Linked DNA regions of Homo sapiens: all the other regions are linked to region 3. Evidence: promoter capture Hi-C in 16 types of primary human blood cells and fetal thymus (Javierre and others, 2016). All regions are on one chromosome and are shown on one strand. The core of a region is centred on a gene start or on the middle of the fragment in contact, and the rest is flanking DNA. Distances in the headings are between cores, read along the strand shown.

The links. The method cuts DNA at HindIII sites, captures the fragments that hold promoters and counts their contacts. A CHiCAGO score of 5 or more calls a contact.
Region 1: a contact is called between the fragment with the promoter of ZNF587 here and a fragment that was not itself captured in region 3, in 3 of 17 cell types (naive CD4 T cells, non-activated CD4 T cells and total CD8 T cells). The highest score is 6.9, in naive CD4 T cells.
Region 2: the fragment with the promoter of C19orf18 here is called in contact with a fragment that was not itself captured in region 3 in 3 of 17 cell types (M2 macrophages, fetal thymus and erythroblasts); the score reaches 6.7 in M2 macrophages.

The regions. Positions count from the first base shown.
Region 1 is chr19:57,846,659-57,851,743 of GRCh38, forward strand. ZNF587 (zinc finger protein 587) reads left to right here and starts at 3,201. Exons shown (of 3, transcript NM_032828.4): 1 at 3,201-3,413. The coding sequence starts at 3,381. It overlaps LOC124904782 (a long non-coding RNA gene), which reads right to left. Exons shown (of 2, transcript XR_007067358.1): 2 at 3,657-3,903. RefSeq lists enhancers at 2,799-2,908, 2,979-3,038, 3,209-3,448, 3,499-3,588, 3,643-4,842. The HindIII fragment of the contact is 27,837 bases long and covers 1-5,085 here.
Region 2 is chr19:57,973,012-57,977,956 of GRCh38, forward strand. It overlaps C19orf18 (chromosome 19 open reading frame 18), which reads right to left and starts at 1,523. Exons shown (of 6, transcript NM_152474.5): 1 at 1,301-1,523; 2 at 1,088-1,192. The coding sequence starts at 1,421. It overlaps ZNF606 (zinc finger protein 606), which reads right to left. Exons shown (of 7, transcript NM_001348022.3): 7 at 4,065-4,945. The HindIII fragment of the contact is 7,599 bases long and covers 1-4,945 here.
Region 3 is chr19:57,470,692-57,475,666 of GRCh38, forward strand. ZNF772 (zinc finger protein 772) reads right to left here. Exons shown (of 4, transcript NM_001144068.2): 3 at 4,969-4,975; 4 at 1-3,730. The coding sequence ends at 2,583. Among named protein-coding and RNA genes, the nearest start is that of ZNF772, 4.4 kb to the right of the region's middle. The HindIII fragment of the contact is 6,834 bases long and covers 1-4,975 here.

The sequences.
Region 1 (5,085 bases), core at 1,951-4,450, 380 kb after region 3:
ATTACAGGCCTGAGCCATGAGCCACCGCACCTGTAATTGATTCTGAGGCCAGGCACGATGGCTCACGCCTATAATCCCAGCACTTTGGGAAGCGCAGGTGGGTGGATCACTTGAGGTCAGGAGTTTGAGACCAGGCTGGCCAACATGGTGAATCCCCATCTGTACTAAAAATACAGAAATTAGCCAGGCATGGTGGCGCATGCCTGTAATCCCAGCTACTCACTCAGGAGGCTGAGGCAGGAGAATCACTTGAACCCAGGAGGCAGAGGTTACAGTGAGCTGAGATCACACCACTGCACTCCAGCCTGCGCAACAGAGTGAGACTCTGTTTCAAAAAAGAAAAAAAAAAATTTATTCTGAGATAATCCCAGTTCCCAGTGTGAAACTATTCCTGCAGTCACTGGAAAATAATAACCACTTTCTTGTAAGGAGATGAAATTTTGGAGCTCAGATGCCGTGTTTATATTGTTATTCAGATGGCCTTTTTAACCTGTGCTTTAATGGTGAAAGTTGTAGCGACTGATGTGTGTACCACAATGGCATTGGCTAAGTTGCTCGTCCTTTGAGATAGATGTCAATGTGATTAAAGAAATTGAGTACACCTTAGCATATGAATTAAGAAACATATTGACATAGTGATCCTCATAGTGACATAGATCAGCAGGACTTGTGTTCTGAGCACTGGTCATGACCCTGCTCATGATGAAACAGGATCTGGTCAAAACAGGATGCACTAAAGAAACCAGCTGAAAGCAGTAAAACTAAGATGGCAAGAATATGAACTCTAGTTACCCTCATTGCCTCACTGCTCATTATATGCTCATTATAATGTATTAGCATGCTAAAAGACACTCCCACCAGCACCATGGCCGTTTACAAATGCTATGGCAATGCCCAGAAGCTACCTCATGTAGTTTAAAAGAGAAGGAACCCCTGGTTCTGGGAACTCCCCACTCTTTTTCTAGAAAATTCATGAATAACCCACCTCTTATTTAGCACATAATTAAGGAGTAGCTATAAATATAGCTAGCCAACAATCCACGGGTGCTACTTTGCCTGTGGAGTAGCCCTGCTCTGTCTGTGGAGCAGCCATTTTCCTGTTCTCTTGCTCTCATAAACTTGCTTTGCCTTCACTTTACACTCTTGGCTTGCTCTTGAATTATTTCCTTTATGAAGCCAGGAACCCTCCTGGATTGAGCCCCAATTTTGGGATTTGCTAGCATCACTAGAGCAATTTTCTGTGGGAACCAGTGGCCAACTGCCAGCTTCACTACCTGCTTCAGGGTGTACCAACATCCGTCTATTTCCCTGTCATTAGATCTTTATTATTATTTTATTTTTTTGAGACGGAGTCTAGCTCTGTCGCCAGGCTGGAGTGCAGTCATGCGATCTCAGCTCATTGCAACCTCTGCCTCCAGAGTTCAGGCGATTCTCCTGCCTCAGCCTCCCGAGTAGCTGGGACTACAGGTGTCTGCCACCATGCCCAGCAATTTTTTTAACATGGGTTTTGCTGTGTTAGCCAGGATGGTCTTGATCTCCTGACTTCATGATCTGTCCACCTCGGCCTCCCAAAGTGCTGGGATTACAGGCGTGAGCAACCGTGCCCGGCTAATTTTTTTATTTTTATTAGAGATGGGGTTTCACCATATTGGTCAGGCTGGTCTCGAACTCCTGACCTCATGATCCACCTGACTCAGCCTCCCAAAGTGTTGGGATTATAGGCATGAGCCACTGCACCCAGCAATTTATTTATTTTTTATTTTTTATTTTTTTTGAGACAGAGTCTCACTCCTGTTGCCCAGGCTGGAGTGCAATGGCATGATCTCGACTCATCGCAACCTCCACCTCCAGGGTTCAAGTAATTCTCCTACCTCAGCCTCCCGAGTAGCTGGAATTGGAGGCATGCAGCACCATGCCTGGAAAATTTTGTACTTTCAGTAGAGACACGGTTTCTCCATGTTGGCCAGGCTGGTCTCGAACTCCCGACCTCAGGTGATCCACCTGCCTTGGCCTCCCAAAGTGCTGGGATTACAGGTGTGAGCCACCATGTCTGGCCTTTATTTTTATTTTTTGTGGGTATATAGTAGTGTATATATTTGTAGATTACATTAGATATTTTGATGTAGCCATGCCATATGTGATAATCACATAGGGTAAATGGGGTCTCAGTCACCTCAACATTTATCCTCTGTATTATAAACAGTCCAGTTATACTCTTTTAGTTATTTTTAAATATATAATTAAATTATTTTGACTATAGCCACCCTGTTATGGTAGCAAATATTAGGTCTTATTCATTTTTGCTCACTGTTTTTTGTACCCATCCTGTCATCATGTCTTATGGAGAATTTTCTTTTGTTCCCAACAAAACAATGAAACTCGCAAAACTGACTGTAATGATTCAGTCTACGTGAATTTAAAGAGCAATCAATACTTAATGTTCTCAGCTCTGAGTGCACACATTGTAAGTCTGAATGATGCCAATGATATGGCCACTTAGATAAGTAAAGTTTGGGAGCATCTCAAATAGTATTTTTATTCTCTGGGTGCAGGATGAGCTTCCTAGAGTCTGATGTGATACCTATTTGATGCTTTTACAAAGAATCAATAATCTTCCTCCTTTGAGGTGTGAGCAGGGCTTTCCAGCAGCCCTCAGAATGTAACATGGTCTGCATTCGGTTTGCTCTTGGAGGATACCACCATTGTTGGCTGAGAGCTCTGGGAAGTACTTTACCCAGAAGGCGCTAGTTGCAAGGCCCAGGATGAGGGATTTCTGGGCATGCTTGTCAGGCCAGGGAGTACTGGGTTGGGACTGAGAAGGCACAAGAGGAGTAGTCATCTCTGCTCCCAAGTGGCAGGTCTGAGGCTCATAGGCACTGGCTGGGGTGATGCCTGCTCCACCCACAGTTGATGGCAGCAGCCACACTGAGGGACCTAGCTCAGGTAAATGCTGTGTATTACAGGCTTCACCCCAGCTAGAGTAATACAGGTAGAGGAACCAATAGGTACAAAGGCTTGGAGGTGCATCTGAGCCATGAACATTTCAGAACCTGGTAACCATGTTGTGTCATGGAAAGTGGGGAACTACATTACCCAGAAAGCTCTGCTTTAAACGACAGCCGGTCAGAGCCAGTGAGCACTCGGAAAGAAGGCATTTCCACGTGTGCACGTAACGTAAGGCCGAGACTTCCGGGGTCTCTAGTAGCGGCTGTGTATCGGCGATGCGGGTGTTTCCCCAGTTTGTGGCCCCTGAGTGCTGGGTGGGACCGCGGTGACTGAACCTAGAAGGTGGAGAGGAATCGTCCTCGGTGCCCAGAGGCGGCTCTGCAGCCCCGTGACGGCGACCACTGCTCCCGGGCCGTGCTTCCCCAAGTAGTCCGATGGCAGCGGCTGTGCCGAGGCGCCCAACTCAGGTAATTGTGGTGCCTTCTGTGCCCTCAGGTCACCCCATCGTCACCCAGGTCCTAAACCAGCGAGGGAGCGGCTCCTGCTCGTGGGTCTGTAGCCGGTACCCGGCGTAGGAACACTGAGGCGCTCACAGGAGGCCTCTCCTTGTAACCGTCCAGTGGGTTCACGTTGCCAGCTGCCTAGACAGAGCCGATTTATGAAGACTGGGGAATTGCGATGGAGAAATAGTAATTCACGCAGAGCCGTCCTGCTGTTCGGGAGACAGGAGTTTTATTATTCAAATCAGTCTCCCTGAGCATTCTGGGATCAGAGTTTTCAAAATTTGGCGGGTAGGGGCTTGGGAAGTGGGGAGTGCTGATCAGTCTGGTTGGAGATGGATTCATAGGGGGTTAAAGTGAGTTTTTCATGCTGTTTTCTGTTCTGGGTGGGATGGCAGAACTGATTGACCCAGATTACCGGTCTGTGTGTTGTCCGCTGATCCATCCAGTGCAGGATCTGCAAAATGCCCCAAGCACTGATCTTAGATATTGGGGAAACCAGCCCCACACCACCCAGCAGATACCCCGAGTCCTGCGGAGACAAAGGAGTTAGAAAGAGACAGAATACGCATTTAAAAGGCGGGTCCAGGTGGCCAGAGCATTGGAGGCTTCCTGGCGGCCCAGAGCTCTTGGGCTCCACCCAGTTTATTGGTTTACAAGCTCTTTGTTCTTATGGCTGATTGGAGGGGGAGGAAGCGATCAGGAAAAGGATTAATCAGTAAAGGAGAACTCGTGAGTCATTCCATAAGATGTAAAGCACTGGCCGTTTCTGTGAATTTCCTTGAACAAAGGCGTGTGTCTAAACTACTTAAGATCTTTAACTTAACTGAAACGGGTGGCTGCGGGTTTCAGGAGGAGCCAAGATGTTTGATTATGCTCCACTGCTTCAAGGGAGTGTGATCTCCCTGAGCAACCCATGGAATGCTGCTGAAGAGTTATGCTCTCGGGGCATAAAGACATGAAGGCAATAAGGAGACTTTTCTCCTCAGAGGCCGCCCATGGCTTCCCATGGGTGTCTCACACAGGGGAGACCAACTCAACTAGCACCCCAGAAACTCACATTAGGTTTTACAATAGTAAGGTTATCTTCAGGAGCAACTTGGGGAGGTTCAGACTCTTGGAGCCAGAAGCTGCATGACCCCTAAACCGTAATTTCTATTCTTGTAGCTAATTTGTTAGTCCTGCAAAGACAGGCTGGTCCCCAGGCAAGAAAGGGGTCTTTTCAGGAAAGGGCTATTATCAATTTTGTTTCAGAGTGAAACCATGAACTGAATTCTTTTCCAAAGTTAATTCAGCCTATGCCCAGGAATGAAAAAAGACGGCTGAAAGGTTGGAAGCAAGATGGAGTCGGTTAGGTCTGATTTCTTTCACTGTCATAATTTCGTCAGTTATAATTTTGCAAAGTCGGTTTCACCTGTTTCTGACACCAGTGGGATGCAGTGGGGAGAGTGACAGGCACAGGTAGGGGTGCAGGCAATGGCCTGCAGATGGACAGAGCTGGAAGGATGGAACCTGGGGTTCACAGGCATCTGTCAGGAACAACGTGTGAGATGGAGCTCTTCCTGGTAGAGCAAGCAGGCCAGGGGCTGTGCATTCATCATGAGGATTCTAGAAGCCATGGAGAGTTTTGAAGAAAGGA
Region 2 (4,945 bases), core at 273-2,772, 500 kb after region 3:
GTGGCACGCGCCTGTAGTCCCAGCTACTCAGGAGGCTGAGGCAGGAGAATTGCTTGAACCCGGCGGTGGAGGTTGTGGTGAGCCGAGATTGCGCCACTGCACTCCAGCTGGGTGACAGAGTGAGACTCCGTCTCAAAAAAAAAAAAAAAAAAAAAAAAAAAAAAAAAAAAAAAAGGATCAGAGAGCCAGGCAGAGAGGCCAGGGAACCAACAATAGTGTCCTTTCCTCGGACACAAATTACATGCAAATGTATCACACAGACAGCATTTCCCTTGCATGGAATGGAGATTATTTACAAGCATCATATATCTCCACAAAGGGTTGCTGAGCTTCAAAGATTGTCGGGGTTGGTTTTGCTGTTATAAGATAAACAAACATCCTCTAGTACTCAAATTAGAAGGGAACCATAGAAAATGCTTATAAAGAATTCTCGGCTGGGCATGGTGGCTCATGCCTGTAATCCCAGCACTTTGAGAGGCCGAGGCGGGCGGATCATGAGGTCAGGAGATCAAGACCATCCTGGCTAACACAGTGAAACCCTGTCTCTACTAAAAATACAAAAAATTAGCTTGGCGTGGTGGCGGGTGCCTGTAGTCCCAGCTACTTGGGAGGCTGAGGCAGGAGAATGGTGTGAACCCAGGAGGTGGAGCTTGCAGTGAGCCGAGATCGCGCCACTGCACTCCAGCCTGGGCGACAGAGCAAGACTCTGTCTCAAAAAAAAAAAAAAGAAAAAAAAGAATTCTGTACACTCACAAACCTTCTGTGTCTAGACTTGCATGCTCTACTGCCAAATGTGCACCAAATTCAAGTCAGACAGGCATACCTGTGTAATCTGGATGGGATCAAGGTTTTTGTGTGCGCTTATTAAAGTGAAATGAAAAAGAGAAGAAAGTGGCAATCCCTAAAGAGAAAGCAGTTAACAGAGAGTGAAGAGCATAAGATCTAATTTCCAAGCAAATGTTTATCTAATTATACTCTATTTTATGGACCTTTCTACCAGCAAGCACACAGTACACATTCACATGGCAGATAAGAGGACTCCAGGCTACGATTCTCACTCCACTGAATGAGGAATTCAATGACTCACCCGTGGATCTCGAGGCAGCCCCTTGAATCCCAGGCAACTGGGTTTTATGAAAGAACACTTTGGGCTCTTTGGTGATGTTTCTGGGTGGTTGTGACCGTTTACTGCCTTGAAAAGAAAACTTTTTGCGGTGAAATGTAATTACCTTCTTTTTATCTCCCCTGAAACAGCTTTTCAATTCTCCCTGAGTCACATAAAACCAGTGGTTGAAGCTACCTGGTAAGCCTGTTATGTTTCCAGTGGGATGGAGTCCATCTGCATACGGCAAGCATAAATGAAGTTGGCATTCCATTAAAAACAAAAACAAAATGAGGAAACCACTCTGAACCTTGTCCATCACTCTCAAATTATCAGTATTTTATCCCGTAGATGAAAGGAAATACTTAGCTACAGTCCAGCATCTGTCCTCTATTTATCTGAGGAATCAAGAAGTTCTACTCCCTTCAGAATGTTTGGGCAGTGACTTGGAGCCACCAGTGTGAGGTCAGTCCTTGCTGTGATAATGGAGTTCCTTCATGGAACCATGCTGACCAATGGGGAGACTACAGTGTAAGAGGGCAGTGCTTGGAGGTGCAGGCATGATGAGACCAGGTCCCTGCCTGCAGTGTGCAGATTAGTGAGGAGGCAGAAAGAAATCAATTACAGTCAGCCCTCCGCATGCATAGTTCCCCATCCGTGATTTCCAACAACCTCACTTGGAAAATGTTCAGGAAAAAAGGAATGGGCACGGTGGCTCACGCCTATGATCCCAACACTTTAGGAGGTCAAGGTGGGCAGATCGCTTGAGGCCAGGAGTTCAAGACCAGCCTGGCCAACACAGTGAAAGCCCATCTCTACTAAAAATACAAAAATTTGCTGGGCGTGGTGGTGCACACCTGTAGTTCAAGCTACTTGGGAGGCTGAGGCATGAGAATCACTTGAACCCAGGAGGTGGAGGTTGCAGTGAGCTGAGATCATGCCACTGCACTCCAGCCTGGGCGACAGAGCAAGACTCTGTCTCAAAAAAATAAAACAACAAACACAAAAACAAAAACTAGCCAGGCATGGTGGCGTGTACCTGTAGTCCCAGATACTCGGGAGGCTGAGGCAGGAAGATCACTTGAGCCCAGAAGGCAGAGGTAGCAGTGAGCCAAAATCGTACCACTGCACAAAGAAAGAAAGAAAAGAAAGTGGAAGGAAAGCAGTCACCCTTAGAAGGGAGGCAATGTGCACAGGGGAGACCCACAGCAGGAAGGTAAAGGGGGACTCCTGATGACTGAAAGTGGGCCCTAGGCTTCAGAGATGGGAGGAATAGAAGACGGGCTCAAAAAAGGCAATGAACTATGTCATGTATGAGGGAGACAGAGGGGACCTGGGAGTGCTGGATGTTAGGGACCACTGAAATCAATACTGTCCAGGCTGTGCATGATAGGTGAGAGGAAGGGAATACTTCCAGGAAGAAGCAGAAGTCTGGGACTTTCTTTTGACTCGTGATGTGACCTGACCAACAGGAGGCCCTTTTTTTTTTTTTTTTTTTTTTTTGAGATGGAGTCTTGCCCTGTCACCCACACTGGAGTGCAGTGGCACAATCTTGGCTCACTGCAACCTCCACCTCCTGGGTTCAAACGATTCTCCTGCCTCAGCCTCTGGAACCGCTGGGATTACAGGCATCTGCCACCACACCCAGCTAATTTTTGTATTTTTAGTAGAGATGGGCTTTCACCATGTTGGCGGCCAGGCCAGTCTCGAACTCCTGATCTCATGATTCACCCACCTTGGCCTCCCAAAGTGCTGGGGTGACAGGAGTGAGCCACTGTGCCCTGCCAGGAGGCCCTTTAAGACATTAAAAAAACTCTTATCTGTTTAAACAGAGATGGGATCTTGCTACGTTGCAAGGCTGGCCTTGAACTCCTCAGCTCAAGCAATCCTCCTGTCCCTCCCAAAATGCTGGCATGAGCCTCGGTGCCCGGCCTAGAAATTTTTTCAAGATAATAATCTTAGTAATAAGGTTATAAGTTACCAGGATGCTTGTGGTATATTGCATATGACTTATGAAATCCTTTGGAATCTCTAAATCAGATAATTTGGATTCACTCTGGCTATTAGAATACAATATCCACATCCTACTGGTAGTATGATTCTGGATATATTATGCTGCTTTCTCCAAGATGAGATAATACTGCTAACTTCATTCTCTCCAAGGGCCTTTGCACAAATCATGTAAAAAAAAAATCCATCAATAACTAACTTGCCCCTGCCACATTTATCAGGTGACCACTAATGTGTCAGGCCTTGAAAGGACTACAATCAAATGTTACACACCTAAGTGAGCCCAAGCTAGAAGAGTCAGAAGGTGAAAATAACAGCCTCCCAATGACATCACTAGGCCATCATTTCTCAACCACTGGGAAGCCATGGGCCCTTTAAAAATTAGATGAGCTTTATGAGCCCAAGTTCCACTCAATACCCTTGAAGCCTATCCAGGAAGGATCCTTGGCCCCCAGTTTTAGAAATACTTATGAACTGGAGAGAAGCCACCCAAGTCTTCTGATCCATCTTTCCCCTTTTCCCCTGTGAACACTGAGACTTCATTACTCTAGGTGGACTGGCTAGCTCTCTTCCCTTCTGAATCCTGCTCCTTCAAGTAAGCCTTTCATCTGCAGAAGATTTCAAAAAAATAAAAGACCGAATTCAAGGTAAACCTTGGGTAATGGTGCTCTGAAGTGCAGTGGTGTCTAGTTATGGAAAGGAACAAACACCCCTGCCCTCTGCTCTGTAAGTGGCATTCTAAACCCACCAAGGGACTTGCCCAGTCCTCCAGCAAGTCCTCCAGGCCCTGCTGCCCTGTTATCCTTGGGGTTGCAGGCAGCAAAGTTCTAGGGAACTCAGGTCCCAGAAAATGCAGTGATTCTGAATGTCCAACACAGACTTCATATTCCAAAGGGATACTAGTTCTCATGTTACTATAAATCCTTCGAGACAGAGAAACCAGGTAACTTTATTTCTCATTGTTTAGGATTTTCTTTTTATTATCAAATCTCTGCTATAGAAACACTGAAGAAAATGGGAAAAAAAATCACTGGAGAGGCAGCATAAAATGGTGGCTGAAAACAAGAACTCTGGAGCCAATCTCAGCTCTACTCCCTTACTAGTTGTGCCCCTTAGGTAGGATCCTTCAACATCTCTGCTTCAGCTTAGCCATTTGTAAAACTGGGGTAACAGTACCTATCTCAGAGTAAAGGGGACTAAACAAGTTAACACTTGGAAAGCATTTAAAAGAAAGCCCAGCACATAAGTGTTATATGTATTTGTAAAACTTTTTAAAAATCTCAACTGGGTTAACTTTTCCATGGATCTTTCAGGTCCTTACCCATATACATTTTTTTAGATGTGTTACAGTAAGTATGTATATACAATTCTGTATCCTTTTTATTCCTTCATGTTATGTATACTGATGCAGTGTCCATAATTATAATTTATAGTGATTGCCTAAAACAAATTACAAACTAATTGCCCAACAATGCAGTGATGAGTAACAATGGACGCTGACACACTGGGCTAAGGATCACTTTCTGTCCAGCAACATCAGTCTCACACTCCTAGGCAATAACTTTTCTACCGTTAGTCATCTCATTCATTAATTTTCTCTAAGGAGGTTAATCAACAGTAAATACCCCATTCAATACTATTATTTTTCTTACATTCAGATTTAGCACTTCATATTCTACTCCTGGGCACCCAGACCCTCCCCTTATAACAACAAAATCTGTATTTCTACAATTATGCACAAAATGTTATTGTAGAGTTTTCCATCCAGTACTCCAGCTTGATGCAAAACAGTGTATTTCCAGTCAAAAACTTTTCTCTGCATAAGGTTTTTCC
Region 3 (4,975 bases), core at 1,863-4,362:
CATTACCAGTATCAGGAATAGAAGAGGTTGCACCACTACAAATTCTACAAGTATGAAAATAATATTTTGAAAAATTTGAGTACTTAAATAAAACAGAAAAACTCCTTGAAAGACACAAACCATCAAAGCTCACTCTAGAGATAGATGGATGGATGGAGTGACAAACAGATGGACGGACAGACAGATGTATATATAACTAGTATAGCCCTCCATCTACCATGGAAATCAAACTTGTAGTTAGATGCTGTCCTACAAAACACACTTCAGGGCCAGAGTGACAGACAGACAACACACACACAGACAGATGTACATATAACTTGTACAGCCCTCTATCTACCACAGAAATCAAACTTATAGTTAGAAACTTTCCTACAAAACAAACTCCAGGCCCAGACAGCTTCCTTGGTGAATTCTACCAAACATTTAAGGAAGAAATAATACCAATTATTCACAAACTCTTCCAGAGAGCTGAAGAGCAGGAATACTTCCCAACTTACTCTATAAAGCTGGCATTATGCTGATACCAAAGCCAAACCTGGGCAAGATATAAAATTACAAAGAAAAAAAAGCAAGCAAGCAAGAAAGAAAGTTAGGGACAAATATCACTCGTGAACATTGGTGCAAAACTTGTTACAAAAAAACAAAACAAAACAAAACAAAATAGCAAATCAAATTCAACAATATACTAAATGACTAATACATCATGACCAAATGGGAATTATTACAGAAATGCAAGGTTGGCTTAACATTTAAAAAAATCAGTCAATGTAATTCATATTAAACAACTAAAACAGAAAAAGAAAAAAACCATATAGGATTATGGTCACCAGAGTCCAAGAAAACGCCCCACAAATCCCTATTTTCACCTTTGTGTAGTTCTCTTCCACTTTTAACCAGGATTAGCTAGGGTTACTTATGAAATATAGCAGAAATGACGGCTCATCACTTTCAGTTTAAGGTAATGACAGATACTGTGGCTTTGTTCTTGTGTGAGTTCTCTCCTGGATCACTTGCTTTGAAACTATTTCTCTACAATGGAACACTCTTAGCAAAGTACAAATGAAAAGAAATGAACTATGAAACACAGAACACCACCATGAGCCTTAATTTCAGAGTTTAAGAAGCCAAAAACATTAGAATACATATTAAATTACTCTATCTCTGTAGAATTCTAGGAAATACAAACAAATCTACAGTGACAACGGATCAATAGTTGCCTGGGGATGGGTGAAGGAAAGGGAGAAAATATAAAAGGAATCAGGAAACTTTTGGTTTGAGAAGTGCCAACATGTATCAAAACTTATCAAATGGTACACTATAAATATGTGCAGTTTATTGCAAAAATGTTTAGACTGACTTCTGGACAGTAACCTTAGCCATAAGAGACACAGGTATGGAAATATTTCTGTAAACCCTCATAATGGAGCCAGAGTAATGGAAACACATGTGGATGTACCTTTAGAAGGGTCATATTCCCTATAGTTTGCTGCAGTTTTCTCATTCCTTTATTAATCTGGGTTTCTGCACCAACTATGATTCCTACCTGGGCCTTCTGGAGGACAGCCAATATCAACTGCCTACTGAAAAATAGACTTCAGAGATCTTGACATGTCCACTGAGTTCAAATTCTCCTCAAGAAGCCTTGGGAATATGAAGTATCTTCTGGGAACAAGGGACGTAATTCATGTTGCTCCCAGACACATTAGAGATTATCACAACAAATGCCCACTGCTTAGGGTGACCTCAATTACACAAAAAATCTTAACATATAGACCAAAAGATTAGGCCTACAAAGACTGGCATTCTTTCCTAGGAGAGCTGAAGCAGTCAAGTAAGTTAGCTTGACACTAGCATAAGAGCTAGTCTTTGCCATCCTACTATCACTTCAGAGATACAGATAGTTGGAGCTCTCACAAAAGCTGTTCTTCCCTTCATACTGGCTTAGCTCAATTCTGTTCTCAACCCAACCCACAAAGCGAACAGAATCCTCAAGATTTCAGATAGTCTAAAAATTAAGGCATTTGTTGCAAAACCAGAATATGAGGCAGCCAATTTCAGGTCAGGTGTCTTGAAGGCTAGAAAAATTCGTCCCAAGTGCCATGTGAGATCAACTATATCCATGAAGGGAAACCTCTGCCAGTGGTCAGCAGAACAAAGCTCCCATTTTTCTGGCTAAAACTGGGTCATGCTCATGCTTAAACCAGTAGTGGGGCAGAAAAAAAGTGAGAATCCTTGATGGCCTCAGGCTACTGATGATTCCCTCCAGGGAAGGGAATAGTACAGAGGTCTGTCTTTTGAAACACATTGGGGTTACTTTGGCACAAGGCAGGACTCTTCCAGCACAAAGACAGATGGCTTCTAACAGGCACTGCCTTGACGAAATTCCAGCAAGAGTCTAGAAAATTCAGCATAGCTCCAGAAGGCTTCCCATATAGCTGGCACTCGGAAGAACCTCCCCAGGGTGAGTGTTTGAGTGTATAAAGTTCTACTTCTGGCTGTCGGCTACACATAAAGGCTATGCTTGGAGCTTCTCTCTGATGTCAGTTATTATGTTGAACAAGGAAACGGAATTATCTCCCATCCTAAGGCCTTTCTCCAGTGTGAATTTTCCAGTGGCGGATGAGGGAAGCCCTCTGCCTGAAGGCCTTCCCACATTCACTGCACTTATATGGCCTTTCTCCAGTGTGAATTCTATGATGCTGAACAAGTACATGTTTGTGGCTAAAGGCTTTTCCACATTCACTGCACACATAAGGCTTTTCACCATTATGAACTCTTTGATGTGCAATAAGGTCAGAGCTTTGGCTAAAGAACTTCCCACATGCGATGCACTCATAAGGCCTTGCTCCAGTATGAACACTCCAATGTTTAATGAGTCTGTATTTGTGACCAAAGTATTTTCCACATTCGCTGCACTCATATGGCCTTTCTCCAGTATGGATACTCTCATGCTGAACAAGTGTAGATTTGTGACTATAGGCTTTCCCACATTCACTGCACTTGTAAGGCCTTGCTCCAGTGTGTACTCTTTGATGTACAATAAGGTTAGAGCTATGATTAAAAACTTTCCCACATATGCCACACTCATAAGGCATTTCTCCAGTGTGGATTCTCTGGTGCTGAGCAAGTATGGGTTTGCGGCTAAAGGTTTTCCCACATTCACCGCACTCATAAGGCCTTTCTCCAGTGTGGACTCTCTGGTGTTGAACAAGTGAGTCTTTGCGGCTGAAGGTTTTCCCACATTCACTGCATTTGTAATGCCTTTTTCCACAGTGAGAGGCCTCCTCACACTTGGTGTTGCTGTGTGGCTTCCACTCATTGTGAGGGGCATGGTGCTCGAAAATGCTTGAGCTGGCTAGGAAGTCCTTACAAGCCTCCCCTGTCACAAAAGACATCTCCATTGATTGCACAGCACAGTTGTTCAGAAGAAAGGGCCTGCTCTTATCACTTCTAAAGGGTTTCTCTCCACTGTGCTGCTTCTGGTGCTGGTGAAGGTTTGCACTGAAGCAGAACTGTTTCCCACACAGCACACACATGTATGGTTTCTGCCCTGGGTGTGTTTCCTGGTGCTCAGCCAAGTGCAAAATGTCTTTTAAGACCAGGCCACATGTCCCACAGGGGTAAGCCTTCTGAGTAGAAGGACCTCCCTTGGGAATCCTGATCTGTGACATTCCTATAGAAAAGCTCTGCTCAAAAGGTATCTCTTCATCCTCCATTCCATGCCAACAACCTGAAAGCAGAGAAATGCTGGTGAAGTACAAATTGACACAGGTGGAAGAGGGGAAGCCTCACTACAAATATGTGTCTAACACAACTAAGACCAAGGTCATAGGACTGTTGTTAGGACAAGGGTCCAAACTCAAGTTCAGCAAATGTGTACTATACGGTAGTTGGCATCTAAATGTCATAGAATGGAGAAGGCCTCAACTGGGAGAGGACAAAGATGTGGGGTACAGCACAAAAAAGAGGCAGGTCTCAAAGTCATTCACAATCAGATTTTCTTGGCTGCTGGGGACAGGTGAGAGTTGTGCAGAAGGTTATGGTCCATACCAAAGAAAATCAAATTGCTACTCAGTAGTTGGTGTTTAAGGACTATTTGGGCTACACATCTCATGAAACACTAAGTACAGGCCAATGCTGGAAGGCACTGTAGAACAAGCCATGGAGAGGAACAGGTGAGACATGAAGGCAGAGGTATGGAACATCCAGAGGCCAAAGGCCAGAGTATGAAAGGCCAGTGGCCTTAGCACTAATACAACTGTAGGCACAAAGAGGCTATGGAATGATATGAACCCAGCCCTGACATCACACCTTTCCCCAGCTCCTACTCACCAGGGTCACTCCCACCTGGAGTCTCTGTGGCAACAGCTAGGGTCATGTCCACCCAGTCAGGTACCCAGGGCTCACTACCCATCACCAGTGAGGCAACTATGTGGGACATGAAAGATGTATGTCCTAAGGGAAAGATAGAACAGCACTGGTCTGGGTAACCCATATAGAAAACTAAATATTATTAAAATAATCTCAGAGTAAGGTCTTGCAGGAATAGTGCAGTGGTCCTAGCAAGTAGCGACCATAATGGTCCCTACAATTCCTGACATAGGCAGGCCACAGGAAATGTCAGCTAAAGGAAGAGCGCAGAATCCCAGGCACAGAGGTGTCATGGATACAGACAGAGGAATTCAGACAGGGAAAGGACAAGATGGATATGACCCACTGGGCTGACAATACAATGCATAACTCCTGAATCCATGCCTGCAAGGCTCTGAGACAGCAAGCGCTGGGAATGCTCAAAAGGAGAAAGTAGGAGTGCAAACAGCCCAAGCCCAGCACTCACAGAACCTACTCCAGGCACTAAGAAATGAGACAGTGTCCACGGCTCTGATGTAGGAAGGACAAAGATGCCCTGAAAAAAAGGGGAAGGGCAGGACCCAGTCCAAGTCACTGGGGTGGATGTGACGGCCTTACCCAGAGA